Regions from separate parts of the Homo sapiens genome. Here region 2 is linked to region 1. Evidence: promoter capture Hi-C in 16 types of primary human blood cells and fetal thymus (Javierre and others, 2016). All regions are on one chromosome and are shown on one strand. The core of a region is centred on a gene start or on the middle of the fragment in contact, and the rest is flanking DNA. Distances in the headings are between cores, read along the strand shown. Region 1 holds the start of MARS2 (methionyl-tRNA synthetase 2, mitochondrial). Region 2 overlaps LINC01923 (long intergenic non-protein coding RNA 1923).

Region 1 (4,820 bases), core at 733-3,232:
TCATAGTTTGAAAATATTTTCTCCCATTCTGTAGATTGTCTGCTTACTCTGTTGATAGTTTATTTTGTGGTGCGGAAACTCTTTAATTAGGTCCCATTTGTCAATTTTTGTTTTTGTTGCAATTGCTTTTGGCATCCTCATGATGAAATCTTTGTCAGGTCCTATGTCCAGAATGGTATTTCCCAGGTTACCTTCTAAGGTTTTTAGTTTTAGGTTTTACATTTAAGTCTTTAATCCATTTTGAGTTGAGTTTTGTATATGGTATAGGAAGGGGGTCCTGTTTCATCTGTATATGGCTAGCTAGTTATCCAAGCACCATTTATTGAATAGGGAGTCTTTTGCCCATTGCTTGTTTTTATCAACTTTGTTGAAGACCAGATGGTTGTAGGTCATTCTTAAACTGCTGGATTAAATAAGAGCACATCAACTGAGTATCCAAAGTTATTTTTTATATCTCTTATACAGAATTCGATTGGTCCACCTTTCATCATATCACTAGAGAAATCAGATCCAAGTTACCATATGTGTTCAGTCAAAGGTTATTATACAGCAGTCAAAATGAATGAATTACATGCAACATGTATTAAGAACATATGAATGCAGTTACATGCAACAACATGGATTAATATAGCAACAAAATGTTGAATAAAAAGGCAAGTTGAAGACTACATGTAGTATTATATCCTTTTTAGAATATTTAAATGCAAGCAAAATTAAACAATGTTACTTAGACATACTTTGTATGTGATCACACAAATGTGCAAGAACAAAATTCAGGACAATGACTACCTCAGGGAGGACAGTACGAGAAGAAAAGGAGCACACAGATCTAAATCACTGGTAATTTTCTAGTTCAGTGTTTCTCAAACTTTAATGTGCATCAGAATCACCTTAAAATCTAAATTACTGGGCCCTACCCTCAGAGTTTTCTGGTTCAGTATGTGGGGGATGGGGCCTAAGAATATACATATCGAACGAAGTTCCAGGTGCTGCCAGTTCTGCTGCTCTGGGGACCACACTCTGAAACCACTTGTAGTTCTTAGATTGGGTTGTAGGTTCATAGCTGCTCCATTTTATTATTAAATGTATATGCTACTTAAATTAAATTAAAAAAAAAAGATCAAAGATGAGAGTGTGTTATGAACTAGGGATTAACATTAATTCAATTCTGGGCTCCTGAGGTTTCCTCCCCTAAAAAAAATTCTAAGGTTCCATTACTAAAAGCAAACTTGAGAAACACTATTTTAAAAGAACTTCAAGACCATTAAAAAAATTAACTTTTTGAGAAATAAATTTGAAAATTATTCTTTATATGCACAGTGACAGCATATTGCACTCTACTTTCCTGGATCTCAATAAACTTTGGCAAGAACTTGGCAGATCACAAATCTACTTTTGTTGATTCAACAAAAACTGTTTAAAGACTTCTCTTCCATTCTCAGTTCTTATCCTTCTCTCAAAATGCTGTAGGTAATGATTTTTCATCTTTTTTCTCTCTCCCTCCCTTACAGATTGATTTAGGCTCTGAGATAAAATTTAGGTGACATTTTAGATATCGACAGGGCATGTGCAGAGCAATACTCTGTCTTGCAGTATGCCAGCCACGGACGGGGTTTAGACAAACGGCTGAATATAAAACTCTTGCCTACAAGCAGCTCAGCCTAGAGGGGGAAACAGATTCATAAATATAAAATTACAATCCAAAGCAGGAAACACAGTATGTTATACGAAGGCAAAGAGGTTCGTCTTCTTTCATAGCCTCTCCTAAACCCGGCAACTCTGAGCTGTTTTTCTGGCAAGCCGCCGTCCATTGGCGGCCTCTGGCGCCGCGGCTTTCGGCGTGCGGACGGCGCAGGCGCGGGCGGGGCGGGGCCGGGCGGGGAGGGCGGTGAGGGCCGGCGCTCGGGGCCGCGTTTCATTGGCTTTCCGGCCGGAAGCTGCGGCGCGACCCGGCTGCGCATGCGCCTCTCACACGTGCTGTCAGAACGCCGCCTCCTCCGCTTGCGGCCGGTCTGCACCATGCTGCGAACGTCCGTCCTCCGCCTGCTAGGACGCACGGGGGCTAGTAGGCTGTCTCTCCTGGAGGACTTCGGCCCACGCTACTACAGTTCGGGCTCCCTCAGTGCCGGCGATGATGCTTGTGATGTGCGCGCCTACTTCACTACACCCATTTTCTACGTGAACGCGGCGCCGCACATCGGGCACCTGTACTCGGCACTACTGGCGGACGCCCTATGCCGCCACCGTCGCCTCCGAGGTCCCAGCACGGCCGCCACGCGATTCTCCACTGGTACCGACGAGCACGGGCTGAAGATTCAGCAGGCAGCAGCTACCGCGGGCCTGGCCCCGACCGAGCTGTGCGACCGAGTCTCTGAGCAGTTCCAGCAGCTTTTCCAGGAGGCCGGTATCTCCTGCACAGATTTCATCCGCACCACGGAGGCCCGGCACCGGGTGGCTGTGCAGCACTTCTGGGGGGTGCTTAAGTCCCGCGGTCTGCTCTACAAGGGCGTCTATGAAGGTTGGTATTGCGCTTCCGACGAGTGCTTCCTGCCTGAGGCCAAGGTCACCCAGCAGCCGGGCCCATCGGGGGATTCGTTTCCTGTATCTCTCGAGAGCGGGCATCCAGTCTCCTGGACCAAGGAAGAAAACTACATTTTCAGGCTTTCCCAGTTCCGGAAGCCACTCCAGCGGTGGCTGCGGGGCAACCCTCAGGCGATCACCCCCGAACCATTTCATCACGTAGTTCTTCAGTGGCTGGACGAGGAGCTGCCCGACCTGTCCGTGTCTCGCAGAAGTAGCCACTTGCACTGGGGCATTCCGGTGCCCGGGGATGATTCGCAGACCATCTATGTATGGCTGGATGCCCTGGTCAACTACCTCACTGTAATTGGCTACCCAAATGCTGAGTTCAAATCTTGGTGGCCGGCCACCTCTCATATCATAGGTAAGGACATTCTCAAATTCCATGCCATCTATTGGCCTGCCTTCCTGTTAGGGGCCGGCATGAGCCCGCCACAGCGCATCTGTGTCCATTCCCACTGGACAGTCTGTGGCCAAAAGATGTCCAAGAGCTTGGGCAACGTGGTGGATCCTAGGACTTGCCTTAACCGCTATACCGTGGATGGCTTCCGCTACTTTCTCCTTCGGCAGGGCGTCCCCAACTGGGACTGTGACTACTATGATGAAAAGGTGGTTAAGTTGCTGAACTCCGAGCTGGCAGATGCCTTGGGAGGTCTCTTGAACCGATGCACTGCCAAAAGAATAAATCCTTCTGAGACCTACCCAGCCTTCTGCACTACCTGCTTCCCTAGTGAGCCAGGGTTGGTGGGGCCGTCAGTTCGTGCTCAGGCAGAGGATTATGCTCTGGTGAGCGCAGTGGCCACTTTGCCAAAGCAGGTAGCAGACCACTATGATAACTTTCGGATATATAAGGCTCTGGAGGCCGTGTCCAGCTGTGTCCGGCAAACTAATGGTTTTGTCCAAAGGCATGCACCATGGAAGCTGAACTGGGAGAGCCCAGTGGATGCTCCCTGGCTGGGTACTGTGCTTCATGTGGCCTTGGAATGTTTGCGAGTCTTTGGGACTTTGCTGCAGCCTGTCACCCCAAGCCTAGCTGACAAGCTGCTGTCTAGGCTGGGGGTCTCTGCCTCAGAGAGGAGTCTTGGAGAGCTCTATTTCTTGCCTCGATTCTATGGACATCCATGCCCTTTTGAAGGGAGGAGGCTGGGACCTGAAACTGGGCTTTTGTTTCCAAGACTAGACCAGTCCAGGACTTGGCTGGTGAAAGCCCACCGGACCTAGAAACTCAGTTCTTACCGGCTTGTGGTAAAAAAGCAAATGTGTTATCTTTTTATTTTTTATTTTCAGGAAAGTTATACTAGTATTTTCTTAAGTGTGGAATCAAATGAGCACATAAGCTGTGTCCCTGTGAAAAGAGGTTTGTAGCCTTTCAGGTGCCTGCTCCTATTCATTTCTCTGTGACCATTGATCACTGTCCTTTGTGCATTGTGTGTCTAAGATGTCTTCAGGGGAAAGATGGGTAAGAGACAGTGTTGCTAATGCTGTTCCTTCTTTGTGCCTCCTTCCAAACCACAGTTATTTGCCCAAACTACCTCTCGTGGCTGGTTTTTCATTGGCCTGGCCTCTGCTTCTCAGGCTAATTAGTGACTCCTTTCTTTGAGGGTCAGGGTTGGAGGCCCCTTACTGGTGGTTTTACAGGGGGATCCTACTTTGTTACACATGTTGGGTTTCCTGATAAAAAGAGAGTATTTTATTAAACCCTTGAACCAGTGTCCTAGACCAGATGATTTTTGCCCATGTGTATCCCCATTTAAATTCCTACAACTAAGTCTCCCTGCTTTGTTAATAGTCCAACAGTTGGGTTGTGTAACATCACACTTCAACCGGTAGATGGCTCTAATCTCACACATTTACTTACTAAAGATTGAGGATTCGGAATATTTAGAATAAATTAGTTTTCTGCTTTCTAATTTTGCAGATCTTTACATTTTTATTGCTTTTCTTAAAATAAGGGATAGCTTTGCAACCACTATTGTTTTAATGGAAAGCAAAAAACCCCCCCAAACTTATCAGAATCCTCGTTCTTTTTCAGACTACTGAAAAATGACATTTACTCTGTTAAATGTTTAATAAGTGAATAAGTAAATGTATCAAGTTGTTTATATAATAAATTATAAAACTCTTGAGGCACTTGGTATGTTAAAAATTTTAAACTTTAGTAACATTAGGTTACAGGTATGATTTAAAAATTTGTAAATAGTTCAAAAGGGCAATGTTTTCTTTATATTTCTTATAGTCTT
Region 2 (4,893 bases), core at 1,414-3,913, 590 kb after region 1:
CAAAGTAAAGATACCAAGCACAGGATGCATCTGTGAAAAATACAGCCCTGGGTCCTGGACCTCACCCACAGTCAATGCTTTACCAATGCCAGTAAAAAAGAGTTTGGCAGTGCCCATGGCCTTAATGTTGTCTGGGCCTCAGGGAAAGTTCAAGGGGAGCCTGGAATCTGCTTGCCCTTTGACTTTCAGGATTTTTAAGAGTTGAGCACTTGAAGCTACTGGGAGGAGAGGAGAGGCACAAAGGTAATTAGCTACAGTGTTAATGGATGTTGTCACTTGCATGAGTCCTTGAAATAGTTGTATATAGGACATTGTTTAAAATTACTGTATGACTTTTCATTATTTGTATGAGCACATTGCTAATTAACACAAGTAATCATCCATACAAATGGATATTTATTGTACACCTGTTTTGTGCAAGGCACTGTGCTAAGTCTGGTGGGGATGTTCTGTGCCCCAGGAGCTTAGAGTCTAGATTTGGCTTCCAGCTCTCTGATCCTTCCATTCTCTGAGATTCTCCCCATTTCCCTTCCCAGCCACCCCATCTTCTTAATTCCTCTGGGATCTAAGAAAAAATGAAATAGAACAGGAGATGGAACTAAAGAAAACTTCTCTGGGTAAGGTGGGCCAGCAGAGAGAGAATAGAAAGGAGATTTTTAAAAGGGGCAGGGTGGCCGGGTGCAGTGGCTCGTGCCCGTAATCCCAACACTTTGGGGGGCTTAGGTGGGGAATCACTGTAGCCCAGGAGTTTGAGACCAGCCTGGCTAACATGGCAAGACCCCATCTCTACAAATAAACCAAAAAAACAAAAATTAGCTGGGTGTGGTGGTGGGTGCCTTTAGTCCCAGCTACTCGGGGCTGAGGCAGGAGGATCCCTTGAGCCCAGGAGGTCAAGGGTGCAGTGAGCTGTGATCACACCACTGCACTCCAGCCTGGCAACAGAGCAAGACCGTGTCTCAATCAGTCAATCAATCAATGAATAAAAATAAATAAATAAAAAGGAAGGGAGCAAAGTGTCTCACAATGTAGTACCCAGGGAAGCAGATGGAGCTCTGGAAGGAGGAGGAGAGAGGTGATGAAGAAGACCATGAATTAGTGAAAAAAAAAAAAAAAAGAAAGAAAGAAAAAAAACATGTAGTAGGAAAGGAAGGTCTCACCTTTTGAGCATGCATTCATTTTTTTAAGTACCCATACACTGAATATCCTTGTCCTGGTTCACTGAAAAACATTGTTACTGAGCTCCTGCTGTATATACTGGAGGTCTCCAGTGTGCACAGATGCATCTCCCACAGATGCATACTACCTAGTCTCTCTGTAAGATTATTTTGATGGTCCCTGGAAGCAGTCTTGTTTTTTCAGGACTAAGGTGAAAGTAACTTAAAATTTGCATTAATCAAAATTAATGAAAGGAAATCCATGATGAACAAAATATCAACAATTTATATAAAGGCAATATCAATATCCTAGGGCTGAAACAACAGATCATTTATGTTCCTATCAATAGTGAAACTCATATAGATTTCTTATAATTAAAACAAAAGGAAGGGTATAGGGAAAGACACCAGCCAAGGCAGTCTTAACTATTCACAGTCTGCTCAGTTGTGCAGGCTCAGTTGAAACAGCTGGTCTAGGGTCTGTGGCCGCTTTAGGGATAATTCTGAGGTGGGTTCGTGCTGCCATCTAGTGGTCATATTGCATTATACGCCGTCTTCACTTCTGGAGGCTCTCTTGGGGGAAAACGTGATAAACCTGAAAAGATCCAGGTCAAGGAGGTAGACGAATGTGAGAAATTTTCCGGATTGACAGGTTTTTGGATGTAACCAATTATTTGATATTCTGGTTTTTTTTGTTCTCTTAAAATACGAATTGGAATCCTCTTATGTTTGAGGAGCTGTGCTAGATGCTGGATATGGTCTGGTGAATATGCATGACCATGTCTTTGTCCTGGGAGAGCTCCTTGAAAGAGTCCAATTCACCCACCAGCCCATTTCATTAAAAACAAAGAACCCTGGAGAGAGTTGGAGAAAGTAAGTGATTGGTTTAAAGTCACATAATTAGTTAATTGGGGAGTCAGCCTTAGAATCCAGCTGTGTAAGCTTTTCATTCTATACTGTTGTCTTCTCACCTTAACAGAAACTTGTCTTTAAGATGTTGAGCCAAGCATTTAAAAGTTACTCCTCCAAATCCTTCCTGAGAGGAGTAGTTGTAGCATATTTCAGATACAGCTGCATTTCTGCTATTAACTCTCTAGTTTAAGTTATAGCAAGCAGTGCTGCTAAGAAACTTACTGCATAAGTACGTAAGAGTCAAAGTGATACAAAATTGACAAGAGTCATCTTTGTTAAATGTAATTTACTTAACACTAGAAAAAGGGAAGTGATAACTTACCCTTCGTCCTTGTGCCAGCAAGGGTATCTTTTTTTTTTTTTTTTTAATAACTGAGCTGCTTCCCATTCCAAATTTCATTAAGACCCTGGCTTCAAGGGATCATCAATGATCCCTTCTCCTACTAATCTCTTGAAAGTAGCTTCATTTTTCTAGGTGCAGGGCACTATATGTTCACCAGCAATACTTCTTATATTGAGTTTTTTTTTGGTGGGGGGGGACAGGGTCTTGTCTGTCACCCAGGCTAGAGTTCAGTGGCGTGATCTTGGCTCACTGCAACTTTCACTTCCCAGGTTCAAGCAATCCTCCCACCCCAGCCTTCTGAGTAGGTGGAACTACGTGTGGTCCACCACTATGCTTAGCTGTTTTTTTTTTTTTTTTTTTGAGATGGAGTTTTGCTCTTGTTGCCCAGGCTGGAGCGCAATGGCCCGATCTCGGCTCACCACAACCTCCGCCTCACAGATTCAAGCGATTCTCCTGCCTCAGCCTCCCAAGTAGCTGGAATTACAGGCATGCGCCACCATGCCCGGCTATTTTTTTGTATTTTTAGTAGAGACGGGGTTTCTCCACGTTGGCCAGGCTGGTCTCGAACTCCTGACCTCAGGTGATTAGCCCGCCTCGGCCCCAAAAGTTCTGGGATTACAGGCGTGAGCCATCGCGCCCAGCCTGCTCAGCTGATTTTTAAAATTTTTTGTAGAGACGAGGTCTGACTATATTGCCCAGGCTATGTTGATGCTACTTGTTCAAGATAAAATAATAAAATCTAACAAGGCGAGATAAAAAATTTTGATTAAGTGCTAAGTGGCATACATATTTAATATATACTGTATTTAATTTTTATTATAAAAGCTTTCAAACATACACAAATATAAAGTTTGCAGTGAACCCCAATGTATCCATCACCCAACTTGCCGACATTGGCATCACTCATTTAGCAAGATTCTGCTGTATTGTTTTTTCTATCCTGTTTTTCTTCCTTTTTTTCTGAAGAATTTAAACAAATCACAGACACTTTACCCTTATTACACTTTACTCTTAAATAAAAAATTAAAATTCCTCAAAAATATGGTTCTTTGTTTATATATAGACAGTCATATGCTGTATAATGAGGTTTTGGTCAACAGTAGAGTGAATATATGATGGCAGTCTTGCACAATTATTATGGAGCTGAGAAATTCCTATCAGCCGACTTGTTACTGCCATTGTAGCATCATAACTCAATGCATTACTCTTGTGTCTGTGGTGATTCTGGTGCAAACAAACCTACTATGCTGACAGTCATATAAAAATCTAGCACATACAATCGTGTATAGTAAATAGTCCTTGATAATGAAAATAAATGACTATGTTACCGGCTTATGTATTTACTATACTTTCGATCATTATTTTGTAGTGTACTCCTTCTACTAATATAAAAAAATTAACTGTAAAACAGCATCAGGTGTGTCCTTCAGGGGGTATTCCAAAAGAAGGCATTGTTATCACAGATGACAGTTCTTGCATGTTATTGCCCCTGAAGACCTTCCAGTGGGAGAAGATATGGAGGGGAAAGACAGTGATGTTGATGATCCTGACCCTCTGTAGGCCTAGGCTAATGTGTGTTTGAGTCTTAGTTTTTGATAAAAAATTTTGAAAAGTTAAAAGAATTAAAAATAGAAATGAGCTCATAAAATAAAAATAAAGAGAGAAAATATTTTTGTACACTTAGACAATTCATTTGTATTTCAGGCTAAGTATTATTATAACAGTCAGAAAATTTTAAAAATTAAAAGGTTTGTCAAGTAAAAATGTTACAGTAAGCTAAGGGTAATTTATTATTGAAGAAAGAAAACAATTTTAAAATAGATTTAGGGTAACCTAAGTGTACAGTGTTTATAAAGTCTACAGTAGGGTACAGTGATGTCCAAGGGCCTCACATTCACTCATCATTTACTCACTGACTCACCCAGAGTAACTTCCAACCTGCAAGCTTTATTTATGGTAAGCAACCTATACAGGCACACCATGTTTTATCTCTTATACAGTATTTTTACTGTACCTTTTCTATGGTTAGCTATGTTTAGATACACAAATACTTACCATTGTTTTACAATTGCCTACAGTATTCAGTACAGTAACAGGTTGTACAGGTTTGTAATCTACCAGCAACAAGTTATACTATATAGCCTAGGTGTGTTGTAGGCTATACCGTCTAGGTGTGTGTAAGTACACTATGATGTTCACACAATGATAACAGTGCCTAATGACACATTTCTCAGAAGGTATGCCCACTGCTCAGTGATTCATGACTGTATATATATGCGTACACACACACACACACATACACACACACACACACATATATATATATGAATTTCTAGATCTATATAGAAATTGGCTAATGCATGATTATGGAGGCTGAGAAGTCCCAAGACCAGCAGTTGCAAGCTGGAAACCTGGGAGAGTCAATGTATAGTTCAGTCTGGAAGCCAGCAGACTCAGGATACAAGATGAGCTGATTTTCAGTTT

Evidence for each region. Contacts are between HindIII fragments. The CHiCAGO score rates a contact against its expected background, and 5 or more counts as called.
Region 2: a fragment that was not itself captured here is called in contact with the fragment with the promoter of MARS2 in region 1 in 15 of 17 cell types (naive CD4 T cells, fetal thymus, M0 macrophages and 12 more); the score reaches 14.2 in naive CD4 T cells.

The regions. Positions count from the first base shown.
Region 1 is chr2:197,703,387-197,708,206 of GRCh38, forward strand. MARS2 (methionyl-tRNA synthetase 2, mitochondrial) reads left to right here and starts at 1,983. Exons shown (of 1, transcript NM_138395.4): 1 at 1,983-4,820. The coding sequence starts at 2,020. The coding sequence ends at 3,801. RefSeq lists a silencer at 1,797-2,036 and enhancers at 2,177-2,226, 2,267-2,386. The HindIII fragment of the contact is 9,491 bases long and covers 1-4,820 here.
Region 2 is chr2:198,295,186-198,300,078 of GRCh38, forward strand. LINC01923 (long intergenic non-protein coding RNA 1923) reads right to left here. Exons shown (of 3, transcript NR_110267.1): 3 at 4,178-4,893. Among named protein-coding and RNA genes, the nearest start is that of LINC01923, 77 kb to the right of the region's middle. The HindIII fragment of the contact is 1,138 bases long and covers 2,095-3,232 here.